Linked DNA regions of Homo sapiens: regions 2, 3, 4, 5 and 6 are each linked to region 1. Evidence: promoter capture Hi-C in 16 types of primary human blood cells and fetal thymus (Javierre and others, 2016). All regions are on one chromosome and are shown on one strand. Each heading gives the region's core, a stretch centred on a gene start or on the middle of the fragment in contact. The rest is flanking DNA. Distances are from core to core; before and after follow the strand shown.

Region 1 (4,265 bases), core at 925-3,424:
ACTAAAAATAGAATTTTCATAAGACCCAGCAATCACACTACTGGATGTCTATCCAAAGGAAAATAAATCAGTAAATCAAAAGGATACCTGCACTCACATGTTCATCACACCACTATTCATAATAGCAAAGATATGAAATCAACATAGGTGCTCATCAGTGAACAAATGGATAAAGAAAATATTGTATATATACACAATGGGATATTATTCAGCCATTAAAGAGGAATGAAATCATGTAATTTGCAGCAATGTAGTTGGAACTGGAGACCATTATGTTAAATGCAATAAGCCAGGCACAGAATGACAAATACTGCATGTTCTTACTGAAATGTGGGAGCTAAAAAACTTTATCTCATGGACATTGAGAATAGAATAATAGATACCAGAGACTGGGAAGGGGGGTGGTGGGAAGATGAGAGTTAGGTTATGGGTACAAACATGCCGTTAAATAAAAAAAATAAGTTCTAATGTTTGATAGCCGACTAGGGTGACTATACTTAGCAACAATATTATGTATATTTTAAAGTAACTAGAAGAGAGGACTTTAAATGATACCAACACATAAAAATGATAAACACTGAAGGTGATACATACCCCAATTACCCTGACTTGATCATTAAACATTCTTTGCACGTAACAAACACTCACATGCAACTCATAAATATGTAAATTATTATACATCAATAAAAAGGGGGAAAATATTGTGGGGCTTGGGGAAGCCAAGAACATAAGGAGATGTTAGGAATTGTTTGGCTTAGGTCAGTAATTGTGATGGATTGTTGAATGTCAGAGGAGATAAAGTTCTGGAAAAAGCCAACATTGAAATTTCCCCTGGCCGGGCGTGGTGGCTCACGCCTGTAATCCCAGAACTTTGGCAGGCCAAGGCGGGCAGATCACCTGAGATCAGGAGTTCGAGACCAGCCTGGCCAACATGGTGGAACCCCATCTCTACTAAAAATACAAAAATTAGCCGGGCGTGGTGGTGCGTGCCTGTAATCCCAGCTACTCGAGAGGCTGAGGCGAATCACTTGAACCAGGGAGGTGGAGGTTGCAGTAAGCCAGGATCTTTCCACTGCACTCCAGCCTGAAAAAAAGAGTTTCCCCTCTGATCACTTTGGTTAACGATTTTAGTTAATAATTATAATAGAAACTAGCATTTACTTATTACTGCCAGGCATTATTCTAAGGACATTTCACGTATTCTCTCATTTCATCCTCCCAACACCACAATAAACCAGTAGTTGTATTATTCCCAATTTACAAAACCGAAGCAGAGACATTCAATAATTTTCCCCAGAGTTTCATAGCATAAAGGTGGAAGCTGATTTCAAATCCAGATAGACAGACATCACTGCCCATGCTTCTAATCATGTATTCATTTAGTCAACAACTACTTTTGGAATGCTTGCCATACCATGCAATGTGCAGGTTGTTTTGCAGGGACTGGAGATTCAGCAATGATTCAGACTAAAATCCCCTGCCCTGTCGAGGCTAAATAACTGCTCCTTACAGTGGCCTGTGGATCATATTGGTATAAGGCAGAGCAAAGATGGGTTAATATGGTAATCACAAGGCAGGGAGCTTTGTAAATGTGTCCTCCTAGGAGTTGTGCTCCCTTGATGCCATCAGTACATTCCACAAAGAGGAAGTTCTTCTAACTCACTACGCAGCTGGGCTTGGCTCTTACTCAAGAGCATTTTGGGGTGAAAATATCTAAGTTTACCAGCCCTTGTGCAAATCTGAGATGAAGGACTACATTAAAAGTAAAATTCACCTTAGCAGGAAGTGGGGTTTGCTATTCTGTGTATATCTTTAACAGTATCTGCTGAAAAGAACCCTTTTGTTAAATAATTGTATTACAAGTCCCCAACTTAATCTTTTCGAATATGAAATAAGAGAGGGACAGTGCACAAGAGCAATGTCCCCAGACCCATCTTTAAGTGAAGCACCAGGCCGATGAAACATCCCTCTCTGCTGCCTTCTTTCTCTGATCACAACTCAGCTCCGGAGGAAAAAGAGTCCTCTAAAGTATAATAAAAAGAAAAAAAGAAAAAGAGTCCTGCCAATTTCACTTTCTAGTTTCACTTTCCCTTTTGTAACGTCAGCTGAAGGGAAACAAACAAAAAGGAACCAGAGGCCACTTGTATATATAGGTCTCTTCAGCATTTATTGGTGGCAGAAGAGGAAGATTTCTGAAGAGTGCAGCTGCCTGAACCGAGCCCTGCCGAACAGCTGAGAATTGCACTGCAACCATGAGGTAAATATTTTCCCTTCGTATTCGGTAGTGCTGTTGAGTCATCTTGTCCAATGCAAATCCTGAGAAGCTATGTTCCCAAAGAGGGCCAGCTCCATTTTAGTGTTTGTTTATAGCCTTACTATGCCTCTACCTCTGTTGGTTGTAAATCTGTCTTACCAATGGTGGTTTGTTCCCTCCTGAACAATTTTCTGCTTCACACTGGCAAGCTTCCTAAATTCATCTCCAGAACTGCACGCCTGGGGAGTTGAGTTGCAATCAGAGAAAGAAGGCAGCAGAGAGGGATGATGTTTCATCGGCCTGGTGCTTCACTTAAAGATGGGTCTGGGGGCATTGCTCTTGTGCACTGACCCTGTCTTATTTCATATTTGAAAGGATTAAGTTGGGGACTTGTAATACAATTATTTAACAAAAGGGTTCTTTTCAGCAGATACTGTTAAAGATATACACAGAATAGCAAACCCCACTTCCTGCAAAGGTGAATTTTACTTTTAATGTAGTTCTTCATCTCAGATTTGCACAAGGGCTGGTAAACTTAAATATTTTCACCCCAAAATGCCTCCTGAGTATGAATTAGAGATGGAGTGCTTGGAGAAAATAGTTCTGTTCTCACCTCTAACATTCCCTTCTATCCCCAAAACATGAGACTGCCCTGGAGAGGAAGTGTTAGCTCATTGAATAGGAAGGGAAATATTTTCTCCAGTTTGAAGGTGGGGTGGCCGGACCTGGTTGCCTAACCCTCATCCTGGGAGCTCTGGAATCCCGTGTTACCAACCCCTGTGCTTACTTCCTATGAGACACCTTGCCCTCTGTCTGTGAGGTTCCTGATTTCTCTTCTTGAAACGATATTATTTCCTGCTAGTCTAAATGTTCTGCCTGATTTCAAAAAAAAAAAAAAAGATTTGAGATATTTACAGATTTCTTTTTTTTGTAGTCACCCAGAATCTATAGAACCCTTTTCTTATTTCTTAGAATTTTAGCATGGTCTTATCTTAGAATTTTTCCCATTACAATACAGACCCATCTGTCCTTTCTTTCCTTAATTCTTTATCTATTGTGACTTTCACTGGGCATTGCCCTTGTGCCCTAAGACAGTGGTTCTCAAAATTGAGCATGCATAAAAATTGCCTGGACAGCTTATTAAGGACAGAGTCCTAGGGTTGACTCCCCAGAGATTCTCATTAAGTGGGTCTGGGTTAGAGTCTGAGGATGTGTGTTTCTAAAAGGCTCCTCAGTGATTCTGAGACTGCGGTGGTAGCATTAGTTCTGAGCCTGGTTGATAATGTCACTGTGGCTTTCATCCAGATAAGAGGCAAAGGAAGAAATTGTTGTTGTTGTGTATACAACTGGAACTTCTATAGGAATCGGGAGAATAGGTCCTCACAAGCCAGAGCCCAGGAAGCAAGTGTCTGGCATCAGCTTCTCTAACTTACCAGTGGAAATAAAAACCCAAAATCAAGCAGTGAAGTTGGATGCCTTTTAAATGGCTGCTCAAAGGGCTTTTACCTAAGTGTGTATATTAAATATCTCTATCCTGCAAATGCACAATAGACTTTATGTTTTATATGGTGGAGATAACCTCAATTCTATTTACTCTCTCTGTTTCTTTTGTAAAATGAGAAAGGAGCTAAGGAGTTTATGTGTTAAGGGAATGAGCTCCCAAACTCAACTGGAAGTTGGAAATAGAATTGAGAGGGAGCAAGGAAGCTATAGTGAGTCTTCAGGTGTTAGGATGCGTGCTGCACATGCTTGGGGTCTGAGAGTGGTCATATTCTGTAGGACTCACCATATTCTGTAATGAATGCAGTAGAGAGTGTGACTGAGATGCACATGGAGAAAACACAGGGTCTGAGCCCTCCAAGCTCCCCAGTGTCCTGTTCTGATCCTCCTGGGGTCACTACAGTCCTACCCATGGTCCTGTGAAGCACTCTAGTAACTTTAAATCAGTTCCTGCTCACCTCTGTTTCTTGGAACAAATGGAGACTTAACTATCCCAGGCAGAATAAACAAA
Region 2 (4,265 bases), core at 1,029-3,528, 470 kb before region 1:
GTAGATAATCAATGAAGGTAAATTTTTTCTTCACAGCATAATGCAAGCAGGTTCTCTCTTTCTAAAAATTAAGAAAAGGATTCTTTACTAATAAAGCATTTCAATTCAAAATTTATTCAGATGGCCATCTCAAAAAGTTTAGTTTGTGCTTTTTGTTTTTCCGGTACCCATGGCATCTTTTCCTGTGGGATACATCTGATTACTGAATGCGGCTTTCCATGGAGCAGAACAGAGAACTCGGTCCAGTGTAAAGGAAAAGCTAGGGAAGGGCTCCTGGGAGTCAACAAAGGTGAAATGTACACAGCAGAGCTCATCAGAAGACAGATTCTTATACCCACTTAGTTTTTGGAAAAAAAGATACACTGAGATATAAACTTAGGACTGAATTTACTATGAAAATTGATAGTTATCCCTTAATCATCTACCATGTGTACGATTATCCATTTTGTGGTTTGTTCATAGGAAAACTCTTAACCACATGGCTGTTTTTCATGTTCCTTCATGTGCATAGTCTAGAAGAATGCATATAACTCAATTTTATTCTTCAAATATGTGAATACTTATCAGGTAATAGATGTCAGCTTCCAAGGGTTGTGGGAGATGTGAACTCTTAGGGCCTCATAATCAAAGATGGACAGAAATATGCACAAATAAATATAAGGCAAAACAGAAGGTGGTAATTGGAATACCAATCAAATCAGTAAGAGGAGAGGGAGCCCAAGAGAAAGAAAGGAGGTTAGTTTCCACTTATGCAAGGCACTGTACCTAAATAAGAACACTTTTTGTTTTTCTAATATGAAGGCATTTATATTTTCTGTAAAAAAATTTTAGAAACTAGAGAGGAACATAACGATAGAATTTTAAATTGCCCATTATTATATTAAATGGTCCAGAGTTAACTGTTGACATTTTGTTGTATTTTCTTCCAGTCTTCTTAAATGCATAAATGTGGAATTTTGAAATGTAGAATGATATTGCATATGCAATATCATATCTTGCTTTTTTCAGTTCAGAAACGTATATTTAGAATATGTACATTTTTCCATGCAATTCAATATTTTTAAACATATGATTGTAATGGCTGCATGGCTTAGTATTGAGTGGAACTACTCTGATGTATTTAGCTAAGCCCTGCCTTTTGAACATTTCATGGTTTTTGAGGGTTTTGTTTTTGTTTTTGTTTTTCTGTGAGACAGGATCTTGCTTTGCCACCTAGGCGGGAGTGCAGTGGCACAATCCTAGCTCACTGCAGCCTTGACTTCCTGGTCTCAAGCGATCCTTCAACTTCAGCCTCCAAAGTAGCTGGGACTACAAACATGTGCCACCACACCTGGATAATTTTTTACTTATTATTATTTTGTGTAGAGATGCGGGGGTCTTGCTATGTTGCCTAGGCAGGTCTTGAACTCCTGGTCTCAAACTATCCTTCCACCTTGGCCTCCCAAAATGCTGGGATTCCAGACATGAGCCACTGCACATGGCCCGTTTCAAGTTTTAAACTTTTCATTTTTATAAATAATATTGCCTGAACCTGCTCATTCATAAATTTTTGTCAACATTTCCAAATTTGTCCTTTGCCTACATTTCTAAAAATAGAATTCCTGGCATAAAAAGTATTAATGCTTTTCATATTGCGCTATCAAATTGTGTTCTAATAAGACAATAATAACTTAAACTTTCTGATCAACATTTGTTTTCTTTTTTAATCTTGGTCAGTTTGACAGACAAAAACAAGGATCTTTATGTTTTAATTTAATTTGCTATCAATAGAATCCATAGGCTTGTGCTTCTGAATCTCCAGCAGAGCTTTTTGTTTGTTTGTTTGTTTTTAAGGTGTTTGTTTGTTTAGTGTTTCTGGAAATAATTTATAAACAGATTTCAGACATGAGAAATCACAGGTTCAAATTATTAATGTACAAATATTAATATTTGGAGAAAATAAAAATATTAAATGCTAACATTAGAAACATTTGAAAGTGGAAAATGCAAACCAAAAACTTCTACTGATAAAATCTATTAATCTAATGTATCCACTAAAGTCTTTTTCATGGTTTTTATGATACCAGAAAATCCCAGCAGGCTGGCTGAGGCCCTCCTCTTCTGCAAAGCGGAGATAAAAGTGTCTCCTCAGCCTTGCCCATGGGCTAACGTCTCCTCCCTCAGTTTCCTAACGAGCGCACCTCTTAAAAGAGCGCAGGAACCCACAGACATCTGTCTTCTGGCACTACCACTCACTGCAACTCCACATATCTGGTTTCACAGCAGTGATCTACAGAGATCCTATTATAGTCCACGATGTTGCATATCTGTTCCATTCAGCACAGGCATGACTTGCTTTTAATCGCAACCAAACCAAAAATAGTAAGCATAAATAAAAAAGTCCAGTAATGATCAATTTTCTGATAATACATTGTTACTCCTGATGAGCTAGTCTCCAAATGACTTAGAAGGGGCAAGGGGGGATTTCCAGTGTTTTCTCGCCTTGAATGCATATAAGTGGGTACAGGACAGTCATAATGATTGCAAAAAAATGGCTTAATATTTATTCAGTGTAATTTAAATATTGCCTTCACTACGATGCAAATGCTAGATGTTCAGAAAGGGCTCCACAAGGATTTTCACAGCAATACACACATATTCTTCTCTTTCTTGGTCCTGAAGGCTCCAAAGTAGCTAATATTGCATCTTTAAATATATTCTTTACACCTTTTTGTGTGACTTCAAGTAACCTCTGGCTCATGAGCTTATTTGTCCTTGGTAAATTTCTCAATAGTACTCTTTCATTCTACAAGAACACTATAGGATCCTCTGGAGATCAGGACATTAATATAGCAGGTAAAAATCTAACTAATGAAACAGCATTTCTTTTCCAAGAAATCTTTGCCATTGCTTCTGTGTTAGTAATGAGAAAGAGGGGAGAGGAAGAAAGAGGAGGATGAAGAGAGGAAGAAGGAAAAGAAAGAAGCTCTATCCAGCCAAATAAGTGAACCAGAGGTAAAAAGACATAATTTATCACAAATTATGCCTGCTGATTGAACTATGTTTTATTTTGCTGTTTAGCCTAATAAAATGTCCTTGGTATGTGTCAGTCTTTCTAAAGTAGGCTAAGATAATTGTTCGTATTAGGAGCTGCAAGCAATTTAAAAAATGACATGCACCACTTCTAGTGATTCAAAGAGAAAAGAATTATCATGAACAATTACACTCTCCATTCATGTCATGACCTCACCTGGTTTTTGAGGTTGACATTAGCATTTCTTCTTAAAAGGAAGGAAACGATTCTCACATGCCCTCGCCTGCAAGCACAGATCAGGGGCGTGTCTCCATTAAAGCCATCTTGAACGTTGGCATAGCTGCTGTCTTCTTTCACCCACCGCCACACTTGTCCAAAGTCATTCTGATAGGCTGCTTGGCAGATGGGCTGGGTCGGGAAAAACAAAAGCAGGTTTTGAAATACTGGCATAATTAAACCACAAAAACGAAAAAAAAGTCATAACCCAATACATTAAAATTTAAATGTTTTAAAATTGTAATATATTGCTTTGCAGGTGAGATTTTTTGGTCTCAGTTATGCCTAGCTTTAAGTCTAGATCAAGAATTAGCCCATGAGGAACCTCCTACATTTTCCTAAGTTTTCTTGGCACACACTTATGTCCATCAAATGGATGAATAAATAAATGAAATACTACAAATTCAACTCAGTAAGGAAACTATGTATAGTGCTTACAGGTAGGTGGGCCTGTCGGAAAAGCATTCATTTTCTTTACTAAAGATAAAATACCTTTATCTTTATCTTTACTAAAGACAAAATACCTTTATCTTTATCTTTACTAAAGACAAAATACCTTTATCTTTATCTTTACTAAAGATAAAATATCTTTATCTTTAGTAAAGACAAAATGTCTTTATCTTTATCTTTACTAAAGATAAAATGTCTTTATCTTTATCTTTACTAAAGATAAAATAGAAAACAAGCATATGGGGAGGAGTTTAGGGCAGTACTAGTGATGAAATAAGACCTACATAGCACCCTGTATTCAAGGAGCTCAACAGAGCAGAAAAGACAGTTTTTTAGGCAAATAATATACAAATTATATGGTTAACTACACTTGATTAGATGCTGTTTATAAAAAGCATTATACAGAGCTTCACAAGGCACCATGGGAGTTTAATAGCAAGACTTCAGGTAGCATGATCTTGTCCTCTTTCCCTCCTCTGCTCCAGCCTTTCTCGACTTCTGTTCTTCAAAGTTTGGTTGAACCAAA
Region 3 (4,265 bases), core at 959-3,458, 410 kb after region 1:
TCCAGTGCTTCTACCTCTTTGCTAACACTTGATAATGGAACTTTTTATTTCTAGTGGATGTGTAATGGTATCCTGTTGTGGTTTTAGTTTGCCCTTTCTAATGAGCACTCTTTCAAGTATTCTTGGCCATTTTTCTACTTTCTTTGTAAAGTGTCTCTTCAGATCTTTTTCCCATTTAAATTAGGTTGTTTCATTAGTGTTTTGTGAGAAATCTTTATGTATACAAATCCTTTATCAGATTAATAGTGTCTTGATGATCAGACATTTTAAAATTTAAAGACATTCAATTTAACATTTTCTTTTCTTCTTTGGTGAATTTTTTTGTGTGTGTGTTCTCTTTAAGAAACTTTCGCCTTCCCCAAAGTTTTTGTCTTACTTTTTCTAGAAATTTTAGTTTTCATTTGAGTAGTTATATCTGTGGTCCATTTTGAACAGTTTTTGTGTGCAGTTGATATAGGGACCCAGGTTAACTTTTTTCTTTTTCTTTTTAGCTTCCATACATTTTTTTTTTTTTAACTACATAAGTAGTTATTTCAGCATTATCTATTGAAAAGACTTTCCTTTCCCTGTTGTTTTGGTGCTTTACAAACGGCTGTGTATATGTGGATCTATTTCTGGATTTTATTCTCTTCCTTTGACCTATTTGTCCTTATTCCAACACAATACTCTCTATTTCTGTAGCTTTATAATGATTCTTGAAATTAGGTAGTGTGAATTCTCCAGTTTTGCTTTTCTAGGAAAATTTTGGCTTTTCTAGGTCCTTTGCATATTCATAAATTTTAGAATCAGCTTGCCAGTTTCTACAAGACAGCATCTTGGGATTTTGACTGGGATTGCATTAAATCTGTGGATCAGTTTGGAGAGAATTGACATCTTGACAATATTGAGTCTTAATCCATGAACACAGTATTCTTCATTTTATTTAGGTCTTTAATGTCTTAGCAGTATTTTATACTTGTCAATGTAGAGGCCTTTCGTGTCTTTTGTCAAATATATTTATAAACATTTTATGTTATTTGATGCTATTGTAAATATTTTTAGTTGCTTTATTTAGGCATAATGAAACACTGCATATATTTTAGATACGCAGTTTGATAAGTTTTGACATGTGCATACACTTATGTAACTGTCACTACAGTCAAGATAGTGAGTATAACCATTACCCTCAAAAGTTTCCTTGAGGCTCCTTGTAAGTGCTCCCTCCCATCACACCTCCAAGTAACCTCTGATTAGCATTTTGTTAGTATACATTAATTTTTTGTAGATTTGTTGGATTTTGTATGCGTATGTTCATGTTGTTTCTAAATAAAGAAAATTTTATTTCTTCCTTCCCAATTTGGATGACTTTTGTCTTTTCATTTCCTTTTTTTCTTTCCATTTTTTTTTTCCTTTTCTTTCCCCTCCTCTCCCCTCCACTTCTTTCTTTCCCTTCTTCCCTTCCCTTTTACCTTTCTTTTTCCTTTCCTTTTCTCTTCCCTTTTTCTTTCCCTTACCCCTCCTTTTTTCTTCCCCCATCCCCTTTCCCCCTTCACACCCAATTACACCAGCTAGAACCTTTAATACAATGTTACTAGAAGTGGGGAAGCAGAAATCCTCTTCTTATTACTCATTTTGCTGCTCATCTTAGATTGAGTCTTTCCTGTTAAGTTTGTTGTTAGCGATAGATTTTTTGTAAGTGCCCTTTATCAGGATGAGGAAGTTTGCATTCATTACACTTTGCTGAGAATTTTTATTACAGATGGACGTTGGATTTTGTCAAATGCTGTTTTCCCATCTGTAGAGATAAAAGTTTCTCTTCATTTATTCTTTTAATATGGTTAATTGCCTGGATTGATTTTTGAATGCTAAACAGACTTTATATTCCTAGAATAAACCATTCTTGGTCAGATGTATTATCCTGTTTTATATATTGGCTAGTATTTTGTGTGGGAAATTTTGCGTATATCTTAATGTGGTATTTTGTTTTCTAATTTTTTCCTGAGGATATCTTTGTCAATTGTGTTATTCGGCTTATGTCAAACTCAAAATTAGTTAAGGTATTTTCTCTTCCTATATTTTCTTAAAGAGTTTATGTACAATTTGTATTTTTTTTTTTTTTGAGACGGAGTTCTGCTCTTGTTGCCCAGGCTGGAGTGCAATGGCGCCATCTTGGCTCACCGCAATCTCTGCCTCCCAGGTTCAAGCGATTCTCCTGCCTTAGCCTCCCAAGTAGCTGGGATTACAGGCATGCACCACCATGCCTGGCTAATTTTGTATTTTTAGTTGAGATGGGGTTTCTCCATGTTGGTCAGGCTGGTCTCGAACTCCCGACCTCAGGTGATCCACCCGCCTCGGCCTCCCAAAGTGTTGGGATTACAGGCATGAGCCACCGCTCCTGGCCTGATCATTTTCTTAAATGTTTGATAGAATTTACTGTTAAACTACTAGGGCCTGAATTTTTTTTTTTGTGGCATTATTTTGTTTGAAAATGGATTCAGTTTGCTTCATAGAAATTGGGTTATTCAGATTTTCTAGTTATGTCTGTTTTGATTAAGTTGCATTTATCAAGTTGTTTCCTTTTTACTTTTTTAAAAAAACATTAAAACATTTCTTTAAAATTACATTTTCTATGCACATTTCTTCCTCAGAAAAAGTAACAAGGAGAATGGTACATAGTAAAAAAATTCTGAATACCTCATGGAATTGAGCATTTGAATAATAGAATATTCTAGTTACTTTTGATTTATTCTAGAGTTATATTTTCCAATGACTTAGGGCCTCATTAATTATATTAGGCTTTTGTGGAATAAAGCCTTTTTATAAACTTCACGTATAAATACAGGAGATGGAGGAAATTGGATCTTTTTTGGTGTATTTTGTTTTTATTTAAATAGATTTATTGAGTTTTTCTAACATTATTAAAAGCAGGATAGTGACTGCTTAGAAATTCTTTATCATCTCAGATTATTATGTAAAAAGTAGCCATGTTAAGGAAAAATGGTCTCTGAAAAGCCGTATCTTTCAAAAACACAATGTTTTTCTCCTTTATTTTTTAAGGCAAACAGTTTCGAATCTAAAGATTATCTCCAGGTTTGTCTTCGAATAAGACCATTTACACAGTCAGAAAAAGAACTTGAGTCTGAGGTTTGTGTTGAATTTAATAGAATTTTAATATTTTACTTTCATTTAAAATGGCAAAATACTAGTTTTTATTTATTGGGGGTATGTTTTCTAGGGCTGTGTGCATATTCTGGATTCACAGACTGTTGTGCTGAAAGAGCCTCAATGCATCCTTGGTCGGTTAAGTGAAAAAAGCTCAGGGCAGATGGCACAGAAATTCAGTTTTTCCAAGGTAAAACTGAAGTGTTTTTGTTTTTTGTTTTAAAGATAAAGAGACTTGGCTTAGGCTAAATTGCTATATAATTGTATATAATGAACTATACATTTTATGCTTATGCAACTTAGATTTTAAGGATAAGACTCAAATCTCAGGTCTGGAAATATATAATTGGATGTAAAGAGATCACTGTAGTGTTATTAAAGTTATTATTACTATATTTTTATTAAAGTTATTATTAATATATTTTTAAGAAATATTCTTTTCAAAACTTAGGTGAATACTTGATTCCCTGGTACAGATTTCTATCTTGAAAACTTTCTGGTAGTAAAACTATCAAATGTATTTGTGGGAGTGGGGATGTGGCACCTATTTTAAGAATGAATCTTTTAAATTTTTAAACAGTAGTGTTGGGATGGAACACACTATTAATATTAACTTGAATTTTCTAAAAAGAGTTTTTAAAAAATGTTTGCTTAGGTTTTTGGCCCAGCAACTACACAGAAGGAATTCTTTCAGGGTTGCATTATGCAACCAGTAAAAGACCTCTTGAAAGGACAGAGTCGTCTGATTTTTACTTACGGGCTAACCAATTCAGGAAAAACATATACATTTCAAGGTAAATATTGTTTTATTTTGGTTGGAAAGGATAAGGAAGCAATAATAATCACTCAGTGTTTTTATAATACATACATGTAGTTATGTTGCTATTACCTAGTATGCGTTTGCTCTATTTTTAATAGTACTAGCATATTATTACGTATTGCTGTTTTTTTTTTTTTTTGGCGGGGGAGGGACAGAGTCTCACTCTGTTGCCCAGGCTGGAGTGCAGTGGTGTGATCTCAGCTCACTACAACCTCTGCCTCCTGGGTTCAGATGACTCTCCTGCCTGAGCTGCTCAGCTTCCCAAGTAGCTGGGACTACAGGCGTGCGCCACCATGCCAAGCTA
Region 4 (4,265 bases), core at 1,151-3,650, 390 kb after region 1:
CCTAAAATAATAAAAATTATGAGTTCATACTAATACATTAGATTCCAATTCAATATCAGAGGGTTCATTTGAAAGACTTTTAAAGACAGGAGTGTCCAAAGTTAAATGTCTGGTTTATGTGAAAGTACTCTTTCCATCACTATAGCCTTTTAATTGTGACCAACATACACACAAATGGCTTGTGTGTATGTCAAGGAAAAGGGGTCCCTGTCCATGGCTAGAGCAATATAATGCAGAATAAGAATATGAGATTGTGAGATGACTTATAAATTACACTAGCTGAGCAAAGCAAAAGGTCTGAACCAAATGTAAATAGGAAAATTTAAGGTCCCCATAAGTGACAGATGGCATATGCTATGACATTTCTACTTTCTGTACCAATGGCAGAGATCAACACATGACCACTACACACTGACTAAGCAAAAACATGGCTTCAAATTTTCAGACATGCATTTCAGGCAGCCACTACTAAGCAACGGGAATTCACACTGTAGATGACTCCTATCCCTAGGTTAAACAAATGAACAGCTAATGTAAACCATATTAGTTGGGAGAGGAGGGAGAACATTATCCATTGTTAGATTTTGCACAAGTTACAGAAAAAGCCTGACATAACATGGTCAATGATGTTCAAAAATTCAACGACATGAGGCCAGTTCCTAGATTTTGGCTCATGATATAAGGTTTCGTATCATCTGGTGGCCGGTTCTTCATTTTAGTTTAGGTATCGGTAGGACAGACTGTTAATCATTTGTGTAGCTGAGATTTCCAGGTCAGCATAGTGATTCCAGGCATCTTCCAATTGAATGGGACTTGTTTCTATGACTGATCCTAAGATAATGGAATGGATAATATTGTGGATGCAGGACCTACCCTCCACATTCCTACTTAACAAGATGAAGTTGCTGTTCCATCCTGTCTGGGATTCTCTCTACCTTCCATGTCAAGCCTCTCCTGTGCAAATTTAGCTCACCCCAATTGAAGAAATATGTTGAGTAGAGAATGGGAGCCAATCACCAGTCAGGTTGTATATGAGTTTACATGATGGTGAAGGTTTCTTATACCTGGTAAGAGTAGCTAGCAGAAAGCTGCAGCATGAGCTAATGGGAAATAAGAGGGGCAACTATGATGGAAAAATGGTGAGAACAATAAAGAAGGTAGGTACTCTGGCAGAGGGACTGCAGAATAATGCTTACCCTTGGGCCTGTGAGTAGAAAGTCCCAGAAGAAAAGAGGATAAGCTGAATGCAGTGTAGAAAATCTGGCTTTGTCAAATCAAATAGAATTCATACGGAAAAATTCTCACAATATAGTGTTCACTAAAAGTAATGTGGCCAAAAATCCTGTGAATATAGTTTGGTCCCTAAGTGTGTGAGTGTGTGTTTCCTTTAAATGTGTTATATGCCTACTATGGTAAGATAGCAAGGACAGGGTGGAGAACAGGAATGAATGGACATGGTTTCTGCCCCCGTAAGGCTTAAACTTTAATGCAATAGATAGCTTTGAAAGTAAATGTTAAGAGTGATTGTATCACTGGTTGTCACATTAGAGATGAGTTTATTTTCTTCTTTATAAATTGTATTTTCCATGTTTTCTACAAGAACGATGTATGCCTTTTATAATGAGAGAAAAGCAACACATCTTATATTTTAAATGAACAAACATTACAAAAAAACAAAACAAAGAAGACAAGGCCACAGGAATCAATTCACATTCATCAGGCTAATAACAGCTTTCTTTACAAAACAGAATACCAATTTTATGTATTCAGCTATGTTCAAGGTCTTATAATAGTAGCTGAAATTATATGAAGAGGGTTAAAAATCAATCTTTGCTCACAAGGGAGATTAAATTATTGTTTGTGTGGTGCTTATGGCACACGGAGCTGAGGGGATAGTTAGCAGCAGATAAAAATATTATATTTCTTTGATTAATAAGGGCTAACTAGATGTGTTCATATTTTATGAACATGCAATTTAATTTGATGTAGCATAACATTTTCTATCCTCTGATTTGCAAAATGTTTCCATTCTTGGATGAAGATTTAGGAGATACTCTAATACACTTTATCAGCAGCACATTGCCAAAGCATCTCCTAGAGTAATAAAACTTGAAGAATGCATATCATTACCTATGCTATTGCTAACTTCAATGTCAGAAAAAGCTTGTCTTACATTTTTAAAGTAGAGTAACGCAATATTAATAATAGCAACTACACTTAATGGGCATTTACTTTGTGTGAGACATTTTACATTGATCATTTCACTGGATCATTCACAACAAAAAAGAATCACAGGTCTATAATCTCTTAAAAACTCTGGGGACCAAATGTGTTTTGGAAATGAGAATTTTTTGGAATTCAGGATGAAATTGGAATCCTTTGGAATATACTACATAAATTGCATACATTTTGTAACATTCCAAATGGGTACAGGACAGTACTATGTAATGAAACACATTAATCTTACTATTTCTGCGAATAAATGTGTGAAAATTCACACTAAGTGAAACAAAACCATAAATAATATTACAATTTATTTACAAAAATATATTAGTAAATTCATTGGTAAATAACATTTTTAAATAAATACGTTTATTGGTAAATGAAATATGAAGATAAATATAGACCACACATACCATAAGCTTTTAATGTGTTTTGTCACTTGTGAAAAAGCTTCTTATTTCTAAGGAAATTTTAAGTAAAATTTAAAACTTATACTGATGAAAACTAACCCATAACACATATACATGCAATGAACGTTTGTTACCTTTGATTGCCTGAGAATCTTGGAGAAGAGGTTGTTCCAGTATTACCACTGCCTATGAAACCAGGTTGGAGCTGGACATCTGATGAGCCAGAAACAGGATTGTCAAGAGATGAAGCGGCATTACCACAGAGAGCTTTATTAAAGACTTTTCCCAGTTTCACCTGCTTCCTTAACACAGGTTTCTGTCTAAGCAGTTTCTCTTTAATTGAGTAAATTGTCATCAGCTCTTGCTCACTGATAAATGTACATCGTTCAAGGCCAGCAATTAATCGGTCACACATTTTCACCATATGATCTATGGAGATTTTTTTCACCCAAATTCATAATGTCATCATCATTACTACTACCATCTTCATATTGATCTGCATTTAACACCATCTCAGCAATTTCCCCATCACTCTTAGGATGCACAATGGGTTCATCATTATCAATGTTAACCCTTTCTTCAATGTTAGCTTCTTCTAACTTATTTACACTTTTGGCTGATAAACTTTTGGCATAGGTAATGAATTATGCTACCATTGTTTTCTCATTAGAGTCATGAACTCTTTCAAAATCTTCATCAGCTAGGTCACTTTCAAACATAATTGTAGCCCAAAGTCTATGCCAAGCATTTGTTAATGTTGACTTATCAACGTCGTTCCAAGCATTAGCAACTGTGAAGATGGCATCCTTAAGATTAAATTCTTTAAGGATGTCCTGGATTTTCAGGCCTCTGTTAACTGAAGCAAGGATGCTTTTCAAAAAACTGTTTATACTTGCTCTTCACGGCGTGTAGAATTCCTTGGTCACAAGGTTGTATTACAGACGTCACACTGGGGGGAAAGTCAATGCCAAAAGCATTGCTCTTCGCAAGATGTTCAGGAGGGGGTTGTGCAGAACAGTTATCTAGAAACAACAAAATTTTGCAGTTGTCTTCCAGTCCAGTTTGCAATGAGCTCATGCTGCTGGCACAAAGTGCCTATCAAACCAGTTGGAAAAGATTTCCCGTTACTGATGCTTTCTTGTGTGCATAACAATGTACAGGTAAATTATGCACACCTTTTAAACACCTTGGATATAGGCTATTTCCAATCACTGCCAATTTTATCTTGTGTGTGCCTGCAGCATTAGCACACTCAAGAACAGTTAACTTTTGCTTAGTATCTTTGACATCTGTTGTTGCTCTTTTGTTAGCCATTGTTAAAGTTTTTCTAGGAACATAGCACCAGTACAAAGCTGTTTCATCAGCACTGTAAATTTGTTCAGGGCTAAGATTTTCATCAGATATTACCTTAGCAAATTCATCAATGTAATTTTCAGTAGCTTCATCATCAGGAGAAGCCTTTTCACCACAGATTTGAAGATACTTGATTCCAAGACACTTTTTAAATTTCTGCAGCCAGCCTCCTGAATATTCACACTCTCCTTCAAAGTTCAGTTCTTCATGGTATATTCTAGCTTGTTTCACGACCAACAAACCAGTCAGTGGTGTATCTTTACTTCTTTGTTGTCGAAC
Region 5 (4,265 bases), core at 1,323-3,822, 350 kb after region 1:
CCCCCGCGCGCCGGCCCCACGGCGCCGGCCTGGAGCACGCCAGCCCCGGGCGCGGAATCGGGGATCCCCGCGCACCCCCAGCCGGGGCTCCCGCCGCCCGCCTTCCCCTGATCCCCAGGCCGCGCGACTTCAAACGCGGCTTCCTCGCCTCCCAGACTGGTCCCCGCCACTGAGCATGCCCAGTCCTGCCCGCCACCGCCACCGACGAGTTTCAACATGGGGAATCAAGTTCTCTGGGCTTGCAGAGAGGAGATGGGCGGGTTGGGCTTTGTATGGCGATGTGAAAACCAGATGGGTCTGGGAGAGACAGCGAAAGGAGCGAACCGTTTCAGGAGGAATACGGGAGGAAGACAATTATTTGCAGAGGTGTCAGGTTTGCTAATCCTGTCCCCAGTGAGCAAGATACCTTTGCAAGGTCATTCACGTTACCCTCCCCGCTTTGTGAGTGTGTGCTTACGCGCGCGCGCGTGTGTGCCTGTGCGTTTGGTTAAGTGACCAAACTACTTAGAGGCCTGAGGGGAGGGAGAACAATTATTTATAGAAAAGTTGGCAGACTTGGGGAGGGAGGGGAGTGAAATTTCTTTGCTGGCACGCACACACACTCAAACACCATGTGGTCTCATGGAGTTGTCTTTTGCAGGGAGGAAACCTAGGAATACAGTGTAAGGACAGTGAAGGACAAAACTGTAGGCAGGATTAATCGGTGCTGAAAGAGATCAAGTAAACAGGAGCAATTCCATGCTATAAAAAGCACTTTCCTCACCCAGAAAGGACTTCAAAAGACAATGTCATGTTATTTATAGAGTAAGGAGTTGCCTCTTCTAAGAAGGGAAGGCGGCATCACGTGGTGACCAGCACTACGAGCTTTGGAGTTAGCACTGGGTTCAAATTCCAACTCAGCCACTGAGCAAACCCAGATAACGTTAATGCTCAAGGTAACACTTCTAGCAATAGGAAACGGGACTGTCCATGCTCACTATGCAGGACTAATTTGGGTGGTGAATACCTTCCCAAAGTTATGCAATCTCTTGAGGCCTCACTTTCCTATCCATAATGGGGCTGTTGTGAGAAAATCTACTAAAAGTACCTGGTACAATCCTGGCACACAGTAAATGCTCAGAAAGCTAGTTTTCCTTATTACGCTATTATGATTAGCAGTTCACCCTTTGTTTCGACAGGGGAACAAACCATGCTTACAGCCGTATTTATTGTGTGATTTATTTTGTGATATTCTCCGTGATTTGCAATTAATCTACAGAGGAGTCAGAGTCTGGCAGGTGCTGGCTGGCTACTGGGTTGCTGGGCCCCTGGGCTTCAGTGCATTCAGCAGCATCTAGGGCTTGCATCTGGCAATTCCTTCCAGCAGAGCCTTACCTAGAATCAGAGCTTGAGAACCATGGGGGCCACTGGAGCACTCTGGTCTATCCACTCTTGCATACTTTTTTCGTATCAGGAAACTGAGCTGCAGACAGATGGCTGAGGTTATTAAGAGCAAAGGTGGGACTAAACTCCAAATCTCAACTCTCTTAGCTTCCCTAACCTTATGCTATTTAAAGACAGAGAAAAAAACCCAGGTGATCTGGCCCCTCCCTACCTCTCCTGCCTCATCAGGGGCTCCCTGTGCTGCCTTCAATTCCTTAAACAACATTCTGCTGTTTCCATTGCCTTAGAGAAGTCTCTTCTCTAAGACCTCTTTTGTCTACTAGACTCCAACTTTAGATCTCCTCTTTAACTTCTCATATTTAGAGAAATGTTCCCTGACCCTTAGGGCTACATTAGGTCTCCCTGCCATACCCTCTTCCTACTCCTTGTACTCTGTTTATGACTCCTTATCATTTTGTAACTATACCATGCATCTGTTCCCTCATTTGTAACTTGAGAATAATAGGACATCACTGAGTTGTTAGACTGATGAAATGCATAACACATGCGTAAAATTAATTCAAACTTCAAGCTATTGGAACTTTTTTGTGAGACTTGAGAGAAATGTGGCTATGCAGCTACAACTTCTGCTTTTTTTTTTTTTTTTTTTAAGACAAGGTCTCACTCCTTCACCCAGGCTGGAGTGCAGTGGCACAGTCGTAGCTTACTGTAGCCTCCAACTCCTGGGCTCAAGCGATCCTCCCACCTTGGCCTCCCAAAGTATTGGAATTATAGGAATGAGCCACCATGCCTGGGCTTGCCTTTTTTCCTTGTAAATAATTAGGAAGACCGAGCAGGGCCAGAGATACTAATCCCTTGGATCACTGCCTCTCCTCACAGAGTAATAATCTTCCTTGGAATGCAGCAGTCTGCAACCAATCAAATCGCTGTGGCATATGCATTGGTCTTGTATGGAAAATGTAATTCTGCTGGAACTTCTCCATCTCTGCCAGTATAAGTGAAATCTTAACTTCTCCACTTTGGAGCACTGATCCCACTCATTTGGAGTTAGTGTTTCCAGGTGGCTATCCTCAAGCTTTGCACTCAAACTTCATACTTAATCATGTTCTCTAAATCTCATTATTTAAGGTTAACATATGTAAAGTGTCCAGCACATTGTAAGTGCTAGAAAAAGACATTATTATTATTTGATTGCCCATCTTACCCCACTTCACTGTAAGCATCTTTAAGGCAGATGACTTGTTCATCACTCTATCCCTAGGAGGCACTTGGTAATTATTTGTGACTGGATAAATGACTTATATCAAGCTTGTCTAGCCTGTGGCCCACAGCCTGCATGCGGCTCAGGACGGCTTTGAATACGGCCCAACACAAATTCATAAACATGAGATTTATTTTTGTGACTTTTTTTTTTTTAGCTCATTAGCTATCATTAGTGTTAGTGTATTTTATGTGTGGCCCAAGACAATTCTTCCTCTTCCAGTGTGGCTCATGGAAGCCAAAAGATTGGACACCCCTGACTTAGATGATATTTCACACAGAGTCCCCCTCACTTTCTACTGTAAATTTGCTAAAAATCACCAGCCACTCCTAAATATTCAAATATATCATTTTCAAATTCCCACATAATTGAGCTGAGTGGCTTAGGAAGCAAATTACATCAGAGATGCAAATAGAAGCTTTAGCATTGCAATATCTCCAAGGACATATTTTTTCTAGCTGGATTCCCAGGCCTGCTGAGGAAGGCCTGAGCCAGGTGGCTCAGACCCAGGCAGGGCAAAAGTACTGGTACTGGGACAGAACGTCCTCCACCTGCTTCCTTTCTCCTACCCTTGTCAGGCTGGGTGCTTGGATCAGTTACACCCAGCGTATGGTAGGGAAGAAGCCAGGTGGCATCTCACAGGTTTATTCAGGGGTGTGTGTAGGAGGTGTAACTTTGAGGCGTGAGCTGTCATGTCCTCCAGGAGGGGCATGCAACAAATGTTTGGAAGAGAGTGAGGGAGAAGGGAACCCACAAACCAGTGCACTCCCTTGGGTCTTATTCATTTATTTAATAATCATTTATTGTGTGTACTATGTTGTAGGCACTAAAGCATGCTGGGAATACAAAGACAAAATAGATGGCTTCACTGCCCTCAAAGGGCTTACAATTCAGTAGAGAGAGAAAAGTCAGTGATTCTCCAGCATCAGTGTTATGTAAGAATAACCTAGGGAATTTTTCCTTTTTAAATTTGTATTAAAACTAACATACATACAGAAAAGTATGCATATCTTATAAAGCTCAAGGTATTTTGCAAAAAATGAACATGCAGTGTAACTTGCAACCCAGGATATTTTGTAAGCACAGATTCTGGGTCCAGTTCCCATAGACTGATTCATCAGTAGGTGATGATGATGATAACGAAGATGATAATAAATATTTTTAAAATTAAAAAAATAACTTTTTCAAAAACAGGGGATTTGATGCAGATGATCATCATGGCTTGGAGAAACAATGAAGGAAGCAAAGTATGCCATCTATGCTGCGGGAGGTAACTCCAGAAGACCCCAGAGAGTGAGCAATGACAGAGTCAGGGGTGGGGGTTTATGGGGGAGTGGTGCTGAGGTGGAAGCTAAAACAGGTTTCAGGGAGGAAATGACCCTTAAACTGAATTTTGAATAATATTGGCCTTTCTTCAGGTGAATAGGGAGGGAAGGTTTAAAAGAATCTACTCAGAACTGAAGGAGCCAAGACTCTGTGGGTGCATTTGAAACAACCTGGCATTTTTGGGAAACTGCCAGGAGTTCCACAAGGCTGAAGAGCAGCCTGAGAAGGGAGAAGGTGAGCAGTAATGGCTGAAAAGTTTATGTAACCAACCAACAGGCTCATTTTACCTGCTGCC
Region 6 (4,265 bases), core at 1,065-3,564, 270 kb after region 1:
GATAGATACACATTCAGACATTGCCTCTATACACAATCCCTTTTAGAAAATGGAAGCAAATCTCTGGATCATTTAGTCCCAAAAAAGCCTTGATTTTTCCCAGAAAGCCACTTCAGGATTCTTGACGATTTGTTCATGGCATGCTCTTGGCATGTTCCTTTGCCTCTTCAAGCTTCAGTCTTTTCTCCAGTAAAATGAAGATAAGAATCCCCACGTTATTCATCATCTGAGTGGATTAATGGAGATTAGGTACAGGGAGTGCCAAGCATATGAAAGGCTTAATCCATCAGAGCTGTCATTATTGTTGTGGACTCTCTTTCCTGGAAACATCTTTTATTCCCACATGGTAGCTTTTTTTTTGTTCTGTTTTGTTTTGTTTTTGTTTGTTTGCTTGTTTGTTTTTGAGACAGAGTCTCGCTCTGTCGCCCAGGCTGGAGTGCAGTGGCACAATCTTGGCTCACTGCAAGCTCTGCCTCCTGGCCTCACGCCATTCTCCTGCCTCAGCCTTGCAAGGAGCTGGGACTATAGGCACCTGCCACCACGCCTGGCTAATTTTTTTGTGTTTTCAGTAGAGACGGGGTTTCACCGTGTTAGCCAGCCTGGTCTGAATCTCCTGACCTCGTGATCCGCCCACCTCAGCCTCCCAAAGTGCTGGGATTACAGGCGTGAGTCACTGCGCCGGGACCCCATATGGTAGCTTTGTAAAGGGCAGGGTCAAGGCCCAGTTCTCACACTCACAGAAGCTCTGGGTTGGGAAGGATATTAAAGGTCACTTCTGGTCCAAGCTCTACCTCTCCATCCAGTGCCAGGTCAGAACTTGTGAAAGTTCAATGCAGGTTAATAATTTGGCACCTTTTTTACTGATATTCTCCAAATAGTTGTTCAACATTTATTTAGAAGTTTAAAAATTAGAATAATAGCAAAAAGTGTAATTTTCACTTCTCAAACTTGGTAGGTTTATTTTGGGAGTGGCCTTGAACCTATTTTGCAACTACTCCTTAGTAATTAAAATGAACTTCTCCTGAGTTGAAATGCAAGATGCAGTTAATGCTTCCAAAGTCTCTTCTGCAGGACTGGATCAATGAATAAAAACTGACACTAAAACATAAGTAGCAATTATTCAATAATTAATACTAATGAATTACTAAATCTCTACATCTTAAAAGTTTGAATACCAGTGTATTTAGAATTTGTTTGGCTTCCAAAAACTATGCATGCCATGGTGTTTTATTTTAAAACTTCAAATCCTAACACTATATACCTTTTTTAAAGTGTTAATTTCTCATTTCTTTTTCTTTTTTTTCTTTTTTCTGAGACGGAGTCTTGCTCTGTCACCCAGGCTGGAGTGCAGTGGTGCGATCTCAGCTCACTGCTCCTGGGTTCACGCCATTCTCCTGTCTCAGCCTCCTGAGTAGCTGGGACTACAGGCACCCGCCACCACACCTGGCTAATTTTTTTTTGTATTTTTAGTTAGAGATGGGGTTTCACCGTGTTAGCCAGGATGGTCTCAATCTCCCGACCTCGTGATCCTCCCGCCTCGGCCTCCCAAAGTGCTGGGATTACAGGCGTGAGCCACCGCGCCAGGCAGTTAATTTCTAAGTGTGGCTATATCTTCATAAAATCTCTCTCTATGGCCATTAAAATGGATTATGCCATAGATGAAATGGTCCTTAACATTCCATGGACAAAGACCCCTACAGCTTGATTTTGCTGAGATAATCTTCATAGTTAATTAAGGACCACAGAAGACTACCATGAGCAGCTGAGGTCAGACAGGGACTGTAGAAACACAGGCTAAAGGACACGAAGAATTGTGTAATTGACTAAATGTTCAGGGCACAGCCAACAAAACTCAATTGTTCTGGACAACCACACCATTTTCTCTAGAGTTGCTGAAAGTTGTGTGGGTGGGATCTACAGATAATTGCCCCACTTCTCCATTTCATTTTGCCTGTCTAAACATTGTATAAATAACTACTTGATAAATTCAATGTTGATGTTGGCACATGAACAGACAGACAGAAAAGTGACTGCTCATTTTAAAATGTATAAAGCCAATATAAATAGTAAACAAATCTCAAAGGAGAATGCCTAAAAATGTTTAAAATTCACAATAATGTTTAATTTACCAAATTTCAACCCACTTATGGAGCTTAATTCAAAAATACTTTTGGCTTATATTTAAAATAAAGTGACATTTGACAAACTGTTCAAATATTAAGCTTAAAAATGTACTCTTCCTAAATAATAATTTTAATACAAACTCTAGATCCACAACTTGCAGGATTAACTATCTCTTCCCCAATATGCCAAAAACACGTACACATCCAAATATGCATAGAGAATATGAATGCTAGAAAAGTTTAAGAATATATCATGAAAATATATTTCATATGTCAGGATAAATAAGCTTGAGTAGTTAATGAAAAATAATTATTTTAAAGTTTAAGTTGTCTTTAAAATTAAATTTTACATATATTTTCAAGATATATGAGAAGACATACACCACCTACCTCACTATGGAATGTGGTAAAACAAACATAATTTATATCTGTGTCATGGCAGCCAAATGGCATAAATTCTTTAGATGTTGAACTTTGCTAAAATAGCAACAGCAAATTTCATGAACAAAGTGAAGTGGAAGAGAAAAGAGAAGAACAATCCAATACAAAAACTGTCTAATTCTTTCTGGTTGCCTTATAGCCTAAAAGAAAATTTTAAACTCTCCTTAAGCCATAACTGCAAAAAATTTAAAAAGAAAATCCATCTGTTAAAACAAATTACGCAAATGGTATTGAGGCTACTTGAATTTATGTCACAGTGCCCTTAGTATTAACCACACCAACTGTGGGCCACACACGTTTGACTAAATGTGCTTAGTGGTTGATTCCAGAAATGTCATAATTCAAGAAATGTACAAGGAAAAAAACTAGTGGAAAAGCAAAAGTAACAAGTGGAATATTTTACAAAATTGAAAATAATACCACACAGGTCAAAAAAAAAACATCCAATTAACATATATAATTTCAGTTTTGTGCTATATTCCAATGGTTCTTTTCAGTCTTCTAATTTACATTGCTTTTTATATATTTCATTAATATATAGGCATATGTTGGAGAAATTGCAACTTTGTTTTCAGACCCAGGCAATCAAGTCACATGAATTTGTTTCCCAGCAGATGTACATGTTATGTTTAGAATATACTATAGTCTGTTAAGTTTGCAATAGCATTGTGTTAAAAAATATAGATACCTTAATTTCAAAAATACTTTACTGCCAAAAAATGCTAATAATCATCTGAGCCTTTAGCCAGTACTAATTATTTGCTGGTAGAGGGTCTCATCTCAATGTATTTGGCTGCTGACATCAAGGTGGTGGTTGCTGAAGGTTGTGGCAATTTCTTAAAATAGGACAAAAATGAAGTTTGCCACATTTGTTGACTCTTTCTTTCACAAAAGATTTATCTGCAGCATGTGATGTCATGTGATGGCATTTTACCCACAACAGGACTTTCAAAATTGAGGTCAATCCTTTCCAACCCTGCCGATGCTTTATCACCTGAATTTATGCAATATTCTAAATCCTTTGTTGTCATTTCAACAATGTTTACAGTGTCTTCACCAGGGGTAGATTCCATCTCGAGAAACCACTTTCTTTGCTTGTCCGTGAGAAGCAACTCCTCATCCTTTCAAGTTCTATCATGAGACTGCAGAAATTCAGTCATCTCTTCAGGTTCCACTTCTAATTCTAGTTCTCTTGCTATTTCTACCTCATCTTCAGTGACTTTCTCCACTGAAGTCTTGAACCCCTCAAATTCATCCGTGAGGGTTGGAATCCACTTCTTCCAAACTCCAGTTAGTGTTGGCATTTTGACCTCCATCCATGGATCACATATATTCTTAACGGCATCCAGAATAGTAAAACATTTCCAGACAGTTTTCAACTTATTTTGCCTAGACCCATAAGAGGAATCAGTATCTATGGCAGCCATAGCCTTACAAAATGTATTTCTTAAATAATAAAACTTGAACATTGAAATTACTCCCTGATCTGTGGGCTGTAGAATGGATATTGGATTAGCAAGTAGGAAAACATTAATCTCTTTGTACATTTACATCAGAGTTCCTGAGTGACTAGGTGCATTGTCAATGAAAGAAATCTTTTGAAAGGAATCTTTTTTCTGAGAAGCAGGTCTCAACAATGAGCTTAAAATATTCAGGAAACCATGCTATAAATAGATGTGCTGTTATCCAAGCTTTGTTGTT

What was found. Contacts are between HindIII fragments. The CHiCAGO score rates a contact against its expected background, and 5 or more counts as called.
Region 2: a fragment that was not itself captured here is called in contact with the fragment with the promoter of IFIT2 in region 1 in 1 of 17 cell types (non-activated CD4 T cells); the score reaches 6.9 in non-activated CD4 T cells.
Region 3: a fragment that was not itself captured here is called in contact with the fragment with the promoter of IFIT2 in region 1 in 3 of 17 cell types (erythroblasts, total CD4 T cells and megakaryocytes); the score reaches 8.9 in erythroblasts.
Region 4: a contact is called between a fragment that was not itself captured here and the fragment with the promoter of IFIT2 in region 1, in 1 of 17 cell types (erythroblasts). The highest score is 5.2, in erythroblasts.
Region 5: a fragment that was not itself captured here is called in contact with the fragment with the promoter of IFIT2 in region 1 in 1 of 17 cell types (erythroblasts); the score reaches 5.3 in erythroblasts.
Region 6: a contact is called between a fragment that was not itself captured here and the fragment with the promoter of IFIT2 in region 1, in 1 of 17 cell types (total CD8 T cells). The highest score is 5.0, in total CD8 T cells.

The regions. Positions count from the first base shown.
Region 1 is chr10:89,299,872-89,304,136 of GRCh38, forward strand. It overlaps IFIT2 (interferon induced protein with tetratricopeptide repeats 2), which reads left to right and starts at 2,175. Exons shown (of 2, transcript NM_001547.5): 1 at 2,175-2,257. The coding sequence starts at 2,253. LOC105378419 (a long non-coding RNA gene) reads right to left here and starts at 2,032. Exons shown (of 3, transcript NR_188200.1): 1 at 1,415-2,032. It also overlaps a transcript of LIPA not described here. RefSeq lists an enhancer at 1,883-2,202. The HindIII fragment of the contact is 3,117 bases long and covers 1-2,461 here.
Region 2 is chr10:88,828,606-88,832,870 of GRCh38, forward strand. ANKRD22 (ankyrin repeat domain 22) reads right to left here. Exons shown (of 6, transcript NM_144590.3): 2 at 3,230-3,421; 3 at 1-61. Among named protein-coding and RNA genes, the nearest start is that of ANKRD22, 21 kb to the right of the region's middle. The HindIII fragment of the contact is 5,846 bases long and covers 1-4,265 here.
Region 3 is chr10:89,706,131-89,710,395 of GRCh38, forward strand. It overlaps KIF20B (kinesin family member 20B), which reads left to right. Exons shown (of 33, transcript NM_001284259.2): 3 at 3,037-3,123; 4 at 3,215-3,331; 5 at 3,797-3,935. Among named protein-coding and RNA genes, the nearest start is that of KIF20B, 6.7 kb to the left of the region's middle. The HindIII fragment of the contact is 5,889 bases long and covers 1-4,265 here.
Region 4 is chr10:89,689,762-89,694,026 of GRCh38, forward strand. It overlaps the pseudogene FLJ37201. Among named protein-coding and RNA genes, the nearest start is that of KIF20B, 9.7 kb to the right of the region's middle. RefSeq lists an enhancer at 3,623-4,124. The HindIII fragment of the contact is 479 bases long and covers 2,162-2,640 here.
Region 5 is chr10:89,645,085-89,649,349 of GRCh38, forward strand. PANK1-AS1 (PANK1 antisense RNA 1) reads left to right here. Exons shown (of 5, transcript NR_184344.1): 2 at 3,839-3,914; 3 at 4,063-4,204. It overlaps PANK1 (pantothenate kinase 1), which reads right to left and starts at 158. Exons shown (of 7, transcript NM_148977.3): 1 at 1-158. RefSeq lists a silencer at 1-161. The HindIII fragment of the contact is 233 bases long and covers 2,457-2,689 here.
Region 6 is chr10:89,572,681-89,576,945 of GRCh38, forward strand. No RefSeq gene overlaps it. Among named protein-coding and RNA genes, the nearest start is that of MIR107, 18 kb to the right of the region's middle. The HindIII fragment of the contact is 188 bases long and covers 2,221-2,408 here.